2 separate regions of the Homo sapiens genome follow, and region 2 is linked to region 1. The links are contacts of gene promoters, found by promoter capture Hi-C in human tissues and cell types (Jung and others, 2019). All regions are on one chromosome and are shown on one strand. The core of a region is centred on a gene start or on the middle of the fragment in contact, and the rest is flanking DNA. Distances in the headings are between cores, read along the strand shown. Region 1 holds the start of ESRP1 (epithelial splicing regulatory protein 1). Region 2 overlaps CFAP418-AS1 (CFAP418 antisense RNA 1).

The links. The method cuts DNA at HindIII sites, captures the fragments that hold promoters and counts their contacts. A contact is called where the count stands out against the background at its distance.
Region 2: a contact is called between a fragment that was not itself captured here and the fragment with the promoter of ESRP1 in region 1, in 1 of the 25 tissues and cell types used here (lymphoblastoid cells).

What each region holds. Positions count from the first base shown.
Region 1 is chr8:94,637,367-94,644,730 of GRCh38, forward strand. ESRP1 (epithelial splicing regulatory protein 1) reads left to right here and starts at 3,808. Exons shown (of 16, transcript NM_017697.4): 1 at 3,808-4,084; 2 at 4,590-4,718; 3 at 5,937-6,050. The coding sequence starts at 3,953. LINC02894 (long intergenic non-protein coding RNA 2894) reads right to left here and starts at 2,101. Exons shown (of 1, transcript NR_034034.1): 1 at 1-2,101. RefSeq lists an enhancer at 5,146-5,235. The HindIII fragment of the contact is 5,400 bases long and covers 2,490-7,364 here.
Region 2 is chr8:95,713,552-95,720,915 of GRCh38, forward strand. All of the region lies in intron 3 of CFAP418-AS1 (CFAP418 antisense RNA 1), which reads left to right. Among named protein-coding and RNA genes, the nearest start is that of GDF6, 440 kb to the right of the region's middle. The HindIII fragment of the contact is 4,002 bases long and covers 1,951-5,952 here.

The sequences.
Region 1 (7,364 bases), core at 2,558-5,057:
TGTTAACATTTTATTGCGTTTGCTTTATCATTCCCTTTACATATATTTTGTCTGAACCTTTTGAGCATAAGTTACAGACATGATTCCTCTTTACCCCTAAATACTTCAGTAGATACTTCCACCAACAAAGACACTCTCTTGCCCAACCACAGTAATATTACAACAAATGGGAAATTAACATGGATATAAAACTATTATCTAATCTACAGATCTTTTTATTTTTTTATTTTTTACTTTTTCTGGTTCAGGATCATGTCTCTTAAAGTCCTTTAATCTGCAAAAGTTCTTCTTCAGTCTTTGTCTTTGATGGCTTTCATGTATGTAAGAGTACAGGCCAGTTATTTTATAGGCTGTTCCTCAACTTGGGTCTCTGGCGCTTAAAAACAAAACAACAGAATCTCAACGTTTTGAGAATTTTAGGTGTGGTCCTGAGCCAATACTTAAATAAGCCTCTCTCCTCAAGGTTCTTTCCAGCCACCTTACACAGATTATCCTTAGTGAATTAGATTTATAGATGGTGGTGATAGACAGTAAAACATTTTTGTATTCAGAACTGTCTTGAATTACATATATTCCAACCCCTCCACCACATTTTACCATTTTAATTTAACAAAAGTAAGTTTGTTGAAGAATGAGCACATACTCTTTAAACATTTAAGTCTTAAATTACCTGTAGACTCCCATTTTGACAATCTCACCCCTGCAGTGATGACCTATGCCCTAGGCTCAGAAGACAAAGATCTGCAAAAATGGGTGTTACTCATTACAATCATTCAACAAATATTTGTTGAGTGCCTAGTATATGTCAGGCTCTGTTCCAAGCCCTGGGAATACATTTGAGAACAACAACAACAACAACAACAAAATCCTCATCCTTGAAAATCTAGTTGGAAAGATTAACCTTTTTTTTTGAGATGGAGTCTCACTCTGTTGCCCACGCTGGAGTGCAATGGCCAGATCTCGGCTCACTGCAACCCCCCGCCTCCCAGGTTCAAGCGATTCTCCTGCCTCAGCCTCCCGAGCAGCTGGGATTACAGGTGCGCGCCACCCCGCCCGGCTAATTTTTGTGTTTTTAGTAGAGACGGGGTTTCACCATGTTGGTCAGGCTGGTCTCGAACTCCTGACCTCGTGATCCGCCTCGGCCTCCCAAAGTGCTGGGATTACAGGCGTGAGCCACCGCGCCCGGCCCAGAAAGATTAACTTTTAAATTAAAAAAAAAAAAAAAATCAGAAACCGGGATTAGACTTCCCTTAAGTCATTCATGCCGGAGGTTGCAAATTCTTTTTGTGAAAAATCACACCTTAGCGATGACCTTGAGCAGTAGGATGTAAACAACTCCCACAAGCTTAGCGTTCCAATAACGGAACACAAGGCATAAACTAAACAGGAAGAAGGCAAGTCTGTGTGAATATGTTCAACTCCAAGACTCAAGATTCTAATGTGGATACTACTGCGGAATTCCTGTTAAACGCGCTGATTTAATAAAGTCTTCGGTTTATCCAAACGGGCTACACAAATGATTAATCCAAACTCCAAAGACCTAGAAAGAACAGGCGGGGCCGGGTTTCCTCAAGTGTTCCAACCACTTTTTCAGCAAGAGTCACCTGCTTGGCGACGAGCCTCCGGACCGCCCCGCGCTATCTGTTCCACCCGGCGGGGGCCACGCACGGGGTTCCGCGTCCCTGTGAGGCGGCACCTCCTGGGCCCAGCAGAGCTGAGCACCTGGGAACCGCGCACCGAGAGCCCCACGGGGAGGTGGTTAGGGGGAACCGGCTCCTCCAGGCGGCCTCGCCCACTGCAATGCAATCTGGGTGGTTTTTCCAGGTCCCTCCCTGCCTCGTTCCGCGCCCAGTCCCTGCCCCCGCGACGCCCGAGGGCCTGGACGGGTAGCTCGGAGTTACCGGGGCTGGGGAGGAGCGAGGCTACTGCAGTAAGCCAGCCGGAACCCATTTATGACTCCGCACTCTGAAGTTCAGGACAGGGAAGCACCCACCTCTGGAACTCAAGCAGTGGACGAGGGAGGTCCCGAGCGCCGTCGCAGCGCTGCGAGTGTGGGACCCTGGCCTTCGCCCGCTCTCAGGGGACGAGAGCTGCCACCTGTATCACGGGAGGCCCCGCCTCCGCCTGCACCTTCTCCTACCAGGAAACGAGACGGCGCGGGCCTCGGGCTCCTCTCCCCCCTCCCGGGAGCTGAACCCCCACTGGGAAAGCCAGGTCTCCAGCTTCCCTTGACACGCGTCTTGAAAGGTTACCGGATTTGTACCCGGAGTGGGTTCTGCAGGGATAGGTGCATGGTTGCCCGTTTCACATCATGAATATGAACGGGGCTGGACACCTAGAGCCGAATTATTAATACTTCAGACAGAATTCTGTTCCCAAGAACAAATCGCTTTGAGATATAAAACCCGAGAAAACTTCACCTCTGGCGCTTTTCTCTCTAAAATGTCAACAAGACCCAACAACATACTGCCACCGATCTGGTGGCTGGGGGGTGATGGTTGGGGTACGAGCCTCTGGGCAGACCAAGCTGAGGTGGAGCAGGGAGGTTGTTTGGGAGCTTGGTCAAGTCAACACACTCCAATACAATGCCAAAAGCATGAGCAGAGGGAATGGGGTCAGGGCGCAGAACCTGGGAAAAAGCCTGCGTGGCCCGATTTAAGAAAATTTTTATTAGGCATGCGGATAGATGCTTTTCATTTGGGGCCCAAGGCAAATAAAAGGAAATGGGCCCCAGCTCTGGAGGATGTTCCAGCTTCGAACTAGCAGCCAGGACCAAACCAGACATAGCATTCAGAGTTGACAGAAAAAGAAGCGGGCTCCATTGTGCCTGAGTTTCCTTGCGGGGTCCCCCAGCTGCTTTGCGCGCGATAACTGCGTCCTGGGGAGTGACTAGGTGGTTGGGCGTCCAGCCCCTGGCGTCCGGCTCTGCCGCGCGCGGGGTTCCTCTCCGGAAGGTGGGCAGCGCGGCGGGTTTGGGACGAGCGTGCACCCGGGCTCCGGCCCGGAGAAGGGGGGGCTCGCAGGATTTCTCCTGCTGTTTGCACTGAAAGTTGTGTTGGCTCAGGAGCTGCTTTTCCGGGGATCTGCAGTTGCCCCCGCCACCTCCTGGCTGCGGTTGGCAGGTCCCTCCCTCAGCAGTTCGTCCTCCGCCTGCGCCGCGCCCTGGGCAGCTCCGCGCCCCGGGCCTCACCTCTGGCCTCCTTTCGCCTCCCTGCACCTGGCCTTTTCGCTTGACCGTTCAGAACCTTCGGCTTCGTTCCCTGCAGCCGGTATTCTCCGAGCCCCCCTGCACCTCTCAGTTACCTCCAGTGGGAACCCCTCCCCCCAGCGACTCCGAGCCCTTTACCTCTCTGAGCCCTTTCCCCGTCTGGCCTCGTCTACCCTCTGGGTGTCAACCGCCTCTTCCCTGCCCCTCACGTCTCCCCCTCCTCCTCCCCTGCCCTCGCCTCTCCATTCATCCAGCCATTGTCTCCCGCCCCTTCCTCCCCCTCCCGAAGCGGCCTCCTCCCCCACCGCTGCCACGTCGTGGTTTGAAGGAGCCAATGGGCCGGCGCCGCCAGGTGTCTCTTACCTGCACCACGTGGGGGAGGGGGAAGGGGCGGGCAGGTAAAGCCACATCCCAAAACAGAAAAGCTTTCAGCCATTGCGTGCCTCCCGGGGGGGGCAGCCTTGCTCCAGGCTTTTTGCATAGACGCCCGGGCAACTGAATACAAAAAGGGCAGGCCTCCTGCGCCCTCCTTCCCACCCCCCTTCCTGCCCTGGGCGTGGAGCACCGACCAGGTGTGGGCTTGGGTGGTTGGTTACCGCCTTTTGCACTAGCAGTAGCAAGGAAGGGGGGTGGGCGCTCTTTCTTTTTCTCTTAGAAGAGGGTTTAGCACAGGTTTTTTCGTTCTCACTTCCACACCACCTTACCGCCTCCCGACCCCCCCTCTCCCCCTCCCCACCTATCGTCATGACGGCCTCTCCGGATTACTTGGTGGTGCTTTTTGGGATCACTGCTGGGGCCACCGGGGCCAAGCTAGGCTCGGATGAGAAGGAGTTGATCCTGCTGTTCTGGAAAGTCGTGGATCTGGCCAACAAGAAGGTATTTCTCCACATTTTCGTCTAAATGCAAGGAATGGGGCAAGAAGTTTGTGGTAGAGGTTTGGGCGGGGAGGGGGGTGGAGGTAAGTAAATAAGTGCTCTTGTTTGCCCACTTGTGAGTCTGGACCCGAGGCCTAGGGAAGCTAGAGTAAAACCAAACTTATTGGCCAACTGCCTTGGAGCCATTTCAGTCCTCCGCAACTTAGCTCAGGTGGAGAGGCCGGCGCTACCGAGCCGGGTTCTTTGCCCGTCGGGGGACGCTCCGCCGAGACGAGGTGGGGTCTCGGAGGCCCCGGGGTCCACTTCCAGGGCTTTTCCGACCTATCGGGTGGGGGGTGGGGCGGGGGGCAGGAACGCACCGGAACCGATGGCGAGTCGAGAGCTTTGATTCTGCGTCCGGACCCCAAGAGAGGCGCGGGCCGCCCCAGCAGGGGAGCGAGGGAGGAGGGTGCAGAAAGAGGCTCCGAAATTGGGGGAAACTGACCCGTGCTTCTCTACCTTCGGAGGTGGGACAGTTGCACGAAGTGCTAGTTAGACCGGATCAGTTGGAACTGACGGAGGACTGCAAAGAAGAAACTAAAATAGACGTCGAAAGCCTGTCCTCGGCGTCGCAGCTGGACCAAGCCCTCCGACAGGTGACAACCCCGGGTCACGCCACCCACCCCAGCCTGGGCCCAACCCCACCGCACCCTACGCCCTCTCAGGGCGGCCCACGCGTGTTCCCGGAGCAGGGTGGCGAGACGCCTGCCCGGCCGCGTGGGTGGGAGCCCAGCCTGAGGGCCGGGGCGCACCGTTTGGGCGGGGGTCGCTGCTTCTCTTCATCTCCCAGCCCCCAGGGTTTGGGACCGACATTCACTAGTTTTCGAGTTGCTTCCTGAGTAGTTACTGGAGCCGGAGAGTCAGCTCCATTTTGCCAATTGATTGACGTGCGGAGTTTGAATCCTAGCGCCCCCATCTCCAGGTCCAGACCCCAGACGCGCCGCTCCCCTGCGGGGTTTGGGCCCACAGCCTTCGGGCAGGGGGCGCTGTGGCGTAGACGTGCAGGTGGGCCCGGCGGGTGTGCAAGAAGTAGCACTGTGGGTTGGAACCTGAAGGTGCCTGCCTGGTTTCAGGCTTCTGAACTCCCAACGAAAGGCTCGGTCCGTCATTATTTCTTTAGTGGCCTTGGTCCCACTGCCAGGGAGGTTTTTCAGGTCCGAACGTGCAAGGCTGCCCGTTGTGTCACTGCGGAACTGATGGAATCCCCTTATTAGGACTGAGGTGACCTAAAAACCGGCTGTTCCGGGGTGCTGACGGGTGCCGGATCGGGTAGGGCGGGGCGCTAAACACCTGTGCACAGATGAATGCTCTGCGTTCTCACGACCTCTGCCCTAGCACACGAGCTTCGAGTTATAGGAGAAAGCTATCCTTCCTGGGGTGTATTCATCCAAGACTTTCCAGATCTGTATACCCAATACCCGTATTTGTTTATTAGAAGCTGGCATCTTTCTTAAGCCTGGCACATCCAAACATATAAAAAGTAACACTAGGGAATGATGTAATCTGCAGGCAACCTGCTGATGAAATGAGACATCTGACTTAAGTCTTGAATGAATTTTTTTTGTAAAAACAGAAGGGAGAATGCATTGACAAGTTTCTCCTGGGCGCGAACTGCGGATTGATTGGAAAGCTTCCCTACCTCGAGGAAGCTAGACGGTTCGTGGGAAAGGAGTCTGTCCAAGGTTGCCCCAGCACCGGTGTCACCCATCAGGGCCCTTATTGCGGTTTTCTCTGGCTATCACCAAGGGGAGCTACTTTGCAGAGTTTGTAAATCGTGCATCAGTTGCATCCCTATGTGTATCTTGTTCTTGCAGTTTAACCAGTCAGTGAGCAATGAACTGAATATTGGAGTAGGGACTTCCTTCTGTCTCTGTACTGATGGGCAGCTTCATGTCAGGCAAATCCTGCATCCTGAGGCTTCCAAGAAGGTAAGAGTGCTGGCTTCTGGGAAAAAAATGGTTGGAGCTTTGGGGTGACTGGAGGTTTTTAAAAATTTTTGGTTTATTCAAGTTTCTCTGTTCTTAAAAAGATGCATATAGGGAGTTATTTAATGAGTACAGAATTTCAGTTTGGGAAGATGAAAAAGCTCTGGAAATGGATGGTGTTTATGGTTGCAAAATATGTTAATGTACTTAATGTTTTACTGAACCATACTCTTAAAAATTATTAAAATGGTAAATTTGGTGTTATGTATATACAAAGATACTCTTTGGTGACTTAAAATAGTCTCTTTGTTTACGTCCAATTTTCAAGATGCATGACACTTCCCTTTTCCGAAGCTAATACAGAGTGTGAATTTTTGACATTTAAAATAACTACAAAGAGAGGAAAGAACTATTCTTTAGTATGTCATAATATCCTCATTTGTGTTGGAAATGCTATATCCTAGAAAGGAAGGAAAAAAGAATTAAACATTTAAAGTTGTATTTCTAATCATTTCATTAAAAAGGCTACTTAAATAAGATAACCTTATATCTAGTGAAACCACAATCGTAGCACTCTTCACTTTGTCTGATTTTAAGTCAATGTTCAAAACATTCTTGCATCAAAACAAAAGGGTCAGCCTCATCTTTTACCTTTGCTCATTTTTCTGACAGAGAGAGGATTACAGAGTGAGAGAAATACAGTCTTACTATAGGTAAAATGTGATTTCTCTCCCTGGGATAAATACTGAGGGGCTGTGGGAAAAGGAACAGCAGAGACAACCCACCCAGTGTAGCCAATCATTGTTAATACACTGTCTCTTAACAACTTAAATTAGTTTGAGCTGTAACTTTTTATTGTGGTAGGCAGGCACCGAGCTTGAAAAGATGGAAGTAGAATATATTTAGGTACCTGTATAAGGCAAGGCTTGCAATGAAAGATGTAGACTGACAAATGACGACCCAGGCAAGTAAGTGCAGATTTTATTTCGTTTAATATATTATGACAATTCAAAAAGTTTGAAGGAGTAACTCAAGTTGTTATGTCTTCAGAAAATCATTCCTTTTATACGAGTCTTAGTAATTATTTGACAAAAGGGGAAGAATTTTTTTAAAAAATTAAATGCTAGACTAGTCGCTACATCCTTACCAGAAATAGTAATATGTAAGGATTACTTTTTTACTCCCAAACTCACATGACGGAAGGACAAGACTTAATCTTTTCCCTGTTGGGCCAGAGGAAAATAGCTGTTTTCATTATTTAGGTGGAGTGCTTTGGGTGTAGGAAAACATCTGGAGAAAAATTAAGACTTTTTCCTC
Region 2 (7,364 bases), core at 2,702-5,201, 1.1 Mb after region 1:
CCCATGGTCTATGCTCTCTCATTTATTGGACTCTGCTGCCCATCAAGTCCTGTTAATGCTCTGCCCCCAGTTGTAATCTGTAGAGAGTGCAAATAGCCCATGCCAAGGCCTGCCGTCTGTTTGATTTTTTTATGCTTTCTTCCTCGGTGTTTTCGTGGTCATTCTGCCAGATGTCGGACATGCCAGGGCGTTTCTCCCAGGCTCACTCCTTCATCTCAGGAGCTAAGGTTGCATGAAGCCATCTTCCTTGGAATGGTCAGAATCTGAATGCTCCTCAATGTGGTTTATGTAACATATCTCTAGTAAGTGTATCCATTATGCCAGACATTACCTAGATATTGGGGATTAAATAAGATTATCACTGGTGGCCTTGAGAATTTCAAGGTCTGCTGGTAAAGAAATCTACATACATAGGCCGGCGCGGTGGCTCATGCCTGTAATCCCAAGACTTTGGGAGGCCAAGTCGGATGGATCATGAGGTCAAGAGATTGAGACCATCCTGGCCAACATGGTGAAACCCTGTCTCTATTAAAAATATAAAAATTAGCCAGGCGTGGTGGCAGGTGCCTGTAGTCCCAGCTACTCGGGAGGCTGAGGCAGGAGAATCGCTGAACCCGGGAGGTGGAGTTTGCAGTGAGCTGAGATCATGCCATTGCACTCCAGCCTGGGCAACAGAGTGAGACACCATCTCAAAAAAAAAAAAAAAAGTCTCCATATATAGAGAGGGACAGATGATAAAACTCTGTGGTAGACACCTGAACAAAGATCTGTAAAATCACAGAGGAGGAAGCAACCAAGTCGGCAGTTCACCCTACTTGAGGGTTTTGGGGAAGGTGACAATAACAAAAGTGTTTTATAAATGGAGCTTAGAGAGATACACAGAAATTGGAAGAACATGTCACACAGAAGGAGCAGCATGTTTAAAAATGTAAAGCAGGAATGAACACGGTTTCTTAGGAGGGAAGTGAGAAGGTCAGTATAAATGCATAGAGATGGAAAATAGAGGATGAGCCTGTATAAGCAAGCAAGAGACAGACTGTGAAGGAATTTGAATTTATCCTGAAGAATTATCATGATAATCTCTAATCTACACCCTGATTTTATTCCAATCCTTTGAGAAACCTCACCTACTCTTCATGTCTCAGATATACATATAGACACACACACACACACACACACACACACACACACCCCTATTGTTCTTTCAGGCCTTTCCTCTCAAGAATGAGTGTATAGCTTGACAAGAAAGTATGTATTCTTCTATCCCTGCTGGATTTAAGAACCAATCTTCCTTTAAAAATGCTTCATAATTTTGCTGTTGCCCTTCCAAAATGTATTTGACAAGCATCTTCAAGAGAGATCAAAATGGACAAAGAACTAAAAGCCCCAAAGAAGTATAGCTCGTTATTTTCCTGTCCTCTTCTCCTTCACCTCCTGCTCCCATCTTCCAAACAGAATAAAAAGTAAGACTCTTTTTAGAATGCATAATTAGATTTATGCCAAGTAACCTGCTGCTTATTCTTCTTCACTCTGGGCATGATTTATCTCTGTGTTTTACTTAACTGCTAACAAATAGGGTGTCAAGTTGAACTAGCTATTGTCTTTTTTGCTCATATTATTTGTAAAGAAGCTTCTGCCCTTTGCCACAACTGAAAGGCTGAATTGGGCCTTTTGACTTCCTACCTTCCCAGATGTGTAGCTTCAGATTAGACTGAGGTCCAGAATAAATGTTGTTATAGGCTCTCTCAAGTCTCATCCTTTTTTTCCAGAAGCTAATAAATGCTGAAAGTGTTGCCATAGCTGCTACCAAAGTCAGCCTCTGAAAAAAGACCCAGTGTGCATGACTTGTGTAACTGCTGTAAGCACAGAAGGGAGAAATAGAAAGATAGAAAGGGCAACTTCTGACTCATTCCATCTCTCCATTTTCTTTCAGACTCTCTAATAGTTCCTTTCTTCCTTTTATTCTTCTTTTCTCCATTCTCTCCCTTGCCTCCCTCTCTCCCTTCCCTCCTTCCCTACCTCCCTCCTTCCCTCTCTCCCTCCTTCCTTCTTCCTTTCCCTTACCTCCCCTCCCCTTCCTTCTTTTTTGCTCCAATCTCTCTCTGTCCCTCCTTTTAAATTTATTTCTTACATTTCAAAAGATGATTCATTTATTTAAAAATAAGTTGACAGTTATTATTGACTGACACAATGAGCCAGTCTCTGTAATTAGCACTGGAGTTTAAAAAAAAAAGGAGCAAAAGGATACACAGAGTTCCTGTATTCAGGAAGCTTCTAATTTAGCCCCCTTGTAGCAACAAGCCAATTAATATCAGTTTGAAAAGAGATCAGTGCACTATATTTCTCTGTGGTAGATCTGACATGATTTTAGTTAACTTTATAAGATTTCTCCAGTCTTTGAACTAAATTCTGTGATTACATGCTCTCTGCATTTCAATTTTGACTTTGTCTAGATAACATTATGTTAGCATTTTCTTTGAGAGATTATCTTTAAGTGGTAAGATATTTTCTAGGTTTAATGTATTTTCTATGTTTTTAAAAATTAATTTTCTATATTTTCCAAAATTTATATAAGAAACTTCTATAACTTTTATAATAAAGTTATTTCTGATTTTAAACCCAATAGTGAATTTTCTTACAGTAAAATAATAGAAAATGAATTCATCTCTCTTTGAGTGTTTATTTCTTACAATATTTGAATATAATCTACTTAAAATATTTTAAAACTACACCATTAGGGTAAAAACAAAGGCATTGAAGAAAGAAAATACAATAATGCTAGCTGAAAACATCATTCATTTTTACATCTCCCATTTCTTCCTATTTCCTGTTTGTAGGCATACACGTTTTTACATAGTTGTGCTTTTTTTTTTGCTTTTCTATTAATTATTATTATATTTTAAGTTTTAGGGTACATGTGCACAATGTGCCGGTTAGTTACATATGTATACATGTGCCATGCTGGTGTGCTGCACCCATTAACTCGTCATTTAGCATTAGGTATATCTCCTAATGCTATCCCTCCCCCCTCCCCCCACCCCACAACAGTCCCCAGAGTGTGATGTTCCCCTTCCTGTGTCCATGTGTTCTCATTGTTCAATTCCCATCTATGAGTGAGAACATGCGGTGTTTGGTTTTTTGTCCTTGTGATAGTTTACTGAGAATGATGATTTCCAATTTCATCCATGTCCCTACAAAGGACATGAACTCATCCTTCTTTATGGCTGCATAGTATTCCATGGTGTATATGTGCCACATTTTCTTAATCCAGTCTAGCATTGTTGGACATTTGGGTTGCTTCCAAGTCTTTGCTATTGTGAATAGTGCCGCAATAAACATATGTGTGCATGTGTCTTTATAGCAGCATGGTTTATAGTCCTTTCGGTATATACCCAGTAATGGGATGGCTGGGTCAAATGGTATTTCTAGTTCAAGATCCCTGAGGAATCGCCACACTGACTTCCACAATGGTTGAACTAGTTTACAGTCCCACCAACAGTGTAAAAGTGTTCCTATTTCTCCACATCCTCTCCAGCACCTGTTGTTTCCTGACTTTAATGATTGCCATTCTAACTGGTGTGAGATGGTATCTCATTGTGGTTTTGATTTGCATTTCTCTGATGGCCAGTGATGATGAGCATTTTTTCATGTGTCTGTTGGCTGCATAAATGTCTTCTTTTGAGAAGTGTCTGTTCATATCCTTTGCCCATTTTTTGATGGGGTTGTTTGTTTTTTTCTTGTAAAGTTTGTTTTTTTCTTGTAAATCACGCTACCTGACTTCAAACTATACTACAAGTCTACAGTAACCAAAACAGCATGATACTGGTACCAAAACAGAGATATAGATCAATGAAACAGAACAGAGCCCTCAGAAATAACGCCGCATATCTACAACTATCTGATCTTTGACAAACCTGAGAAAAACAAGCAATGGGGAAAGGATTCCCTGTTCAATAAATGGTGCTGGGAAAACTGGCTAGCCATATGTAGAAAGCTGAAACTGGATCCCTTCCTTACACCTTATACAAAAATTAATTCAAGTTGGATTAAAGACTTAAACGTTAGACCTAAAACCATAAAAACCCTAGAAGAAAACCTAGGCATTACCATTCAAGACATAGGCATGGGCAAGGACTTCATGTCTCAAATACCAAAAGCAATGGCAACAAAAGCCAAAATTGACAAATGGGATCTAATGAAACTAAAGAGCTTCTGCATAGCAAAAGAAACTACCATCAGAGTGAACAGGCAACCTACCAAATGGGAGAAAATTTTCACAACCTACTCATCTGACAAAGGGCTAATATCCAGAATCTACAATGAACTCAAACAAATTTACAAGAAAAAAACATGGTTGTGCTTATAGCTTCAGTTACGTTTTCATCATCTGGACATGAGAATATCTTTTGTCGTTACTTAATGTAAGAATTCCAAACAATAGAGAAAGATAAAAGTGGATGAAAATCTACTTTCCTAATTTTACTCCTCAGAGGAAAGTACTGTCAGCAGTTGTTGTAATTGCTTCTGACTTTTTAATATACAGATAAACAAGTAATGCTCTCATGTATACATCTGCTCATTCAATAAAATATTATGGAATGGCTTGGTATTTTTCTAGGTGCCGGCGATACCATGGAGAATAAGATAGGATTGGTGCATACACCCTCACAGAATTTGCAGTCAAGCAGGGTTGGGCATGAGAATGAGCATTCCTAAGAAAGAGAACATTCGGCCGGGCGCGGTGGCTCACGCCTGTAATCCCAGCACTTTGGGAGGCCGAGGCGGGTGGATCATGAGGTCAGGAGATCGAGACCATCCTGGCTAACAAGGTGAAACCCCGTCTCTACTAAAAATACAAAAAAATTAGCCGGGCGCGGTGGCGGGCGCCTGTAGTCCCAGCTACTCGGGAGGCTGAGGCAGGAGAATGGCGTGAACCCGGGAAGCGGAGCTTGCACTGAGCCGAGATTGCGCCACTGCAGTCCGCAGTCCGGCCTGGGCGACAGAGCGAGACTCCGTCTCAAAAAAAAAAAAAAAAGAAAGAGAACATTCATTGGTGATGTGTTGTATGGTTATGGACATCTCTCTATGCCAGCATAAGTTAAGCTATTTTATCATTTTTAATACCTGCATAGTAGTCCATAGTGTGGTTATAATAATCATAATAAAAAGAATAGTAATGCTTATTGAGTGCTCACTGCATTGCTAGATGCCATGCTAAATGATTATGTACTTTACACTAACTAAAGTGTCACTCACAGCCACCAATAAATAGGTTACATTATTTTCTCTATTTTACAAGTGAAAAAAAATGGGTTTATGCAAGTGAGGGATCTTGATCAAGTTCCCACAGCTAGGGAGAGCTAAAATCCAAACTGAGTCTGACTCCAAAGCCTATAGTTTTTACTTCTCCACTATAAATATTCCATAAGTCACTTATAAAGAAGCTTATTGATAAACACTTACGATACTTCTAGTTTTTGCATTTGAAAATAATGCAGTAATTTACATTATACTTGTATGAATATTTATACCCTAAAATAGCCAAACTAGGAATTTTTAATTCAAGGAAATACATGTAATTTTTATAGATATTATCAAATCATCCGTCTCAAAACAACAATCATGAGAGCTTATATTGTCAGCAACTTTCTCAAAGCAACAATTCTCAAAAATTTCTAAATGCGTTTTAAGCAACAAATGTTTATTTGGAATGTAACAATTAGTATGAATTGGACATGTAAAATACACAAACCCACTTAAATATCATTTTATTATCATCATCATTATTACAGCAAATCAAAAGTTGTTGTTCTCATTATACCCCTTATATTTCAAGGGCTGAACACTTTGCATCTAGACAAAACGGAGTAAGTTTGGATTATAACTGTTTGGTTTCGTCGTCCATTGTCAATCTTCCTATTTGAATTATTTCAGAAACTCAGATTTTAAACCAGTGTTCATCAACCATACTCCTGAAGGAGGTTGCTTGGCCCAGTACATTCAGCAAAATGATTGGTCCAAGTACAGATTAGCTGGAAATTACTTACCTTGCCCTTTTCAAAGCTGTGAGGCTTTCTGCCTGATTACTGTCACTGGGTTTTGTCTCTTCCCTATTGCAACCTAAAGAGAATTTTGCAACTGCAATTTGCAATGAGTAACTGGATAGCGATAATGGAGGCAGTGAACCTTCCCATGTAAAGCTATTAGGTTGGTGCAAAAGTAATTGCGATTTTTGCCATTAAAGGCAAAAACCATTGCTTTTTATGAGTAAAATGAGTAAAAACCAAATGCCATTGCCTTTAATGGCAAAAACCGCAATTACTTTTGATGGCAAAAACCACAATTACTTTTGCACTTGTTTATTTAAAAATAAATTGAGTGCTCACAATGTGTCATTCTCTGTAATTAGCACTAGGGTAGAAAGAGCAAAAGGATACACAGAATTCCTGTCTTCAGGAAGCTTCTAATTTAGCCTCCTGTAGCAACAAGCCAAGTAATATCAATTTGAAAAGAGACCAGTGCACTGTATTTCTCTGTGGTATATGTGACATGACTTCAGTTAACTTTATAAGATTTCCCCCATCTTCAAACTAAATTCGGTGTTAGTTTGGTTTTATTTGCCATTATTTTTAATGGCAAAAATCATAATTACTTTTGCACCAACTTATAATACACATCCCTTAAGTCTGCAAAGCTAAGGAATCACCACCTGTTTACCCATTCCATGATCCCTATTTTATAAGCTACATAAACGATTAGAAGAAAAATTGGAGTCTTGGGGTTCTTTTATAACATGTGCACAACCTAGTTTGTTACTAGCACCTCAGTGGCATATCCAGCAATATCCTCATTCCTTTGAAAAGTTTCAGTTGGCCAGGCGTGGTGGCTCACGCCTGTAATCTCAGCACTTTGGGAGGCTGAGGCGGGCAGATCACAAGGTCAGGAGATCGAGACCATCCTGGCCAACGTGGTGAAACCCTGTCTCTACTAAAAATACAAAAATTAGCTGGGTGTGGTGGTGTGCGCCTATAGTCCCAGCTACTCAGGAGGCTGAGGCAGGAGAATCGCTTCAACCCAGGAGGCAGAGGTTGCAGTGAGCTGAGATCGCGCCATTGCACTCCAGCCTGGTTTGACAGGGTGAGACTCCGTCTCAAAAAAAAAAAAAAAAAAAAAGAAAAAGAAAAAAAGAAAAGGACTGTAAATTGAGGTCCCTGTTTGGTCTTTTATTTCTTTAATCTTTACATTTTTTTTTAATTAATTTTTTTTTGGCAGAGTCTCACTCTGTTGCCCTGGCAGAGTCTCACTCTGTTGCCCAGGCTGAAGTGCAGTGGCACGATCTGCACTCATGGCAACTTCTGCCTCCC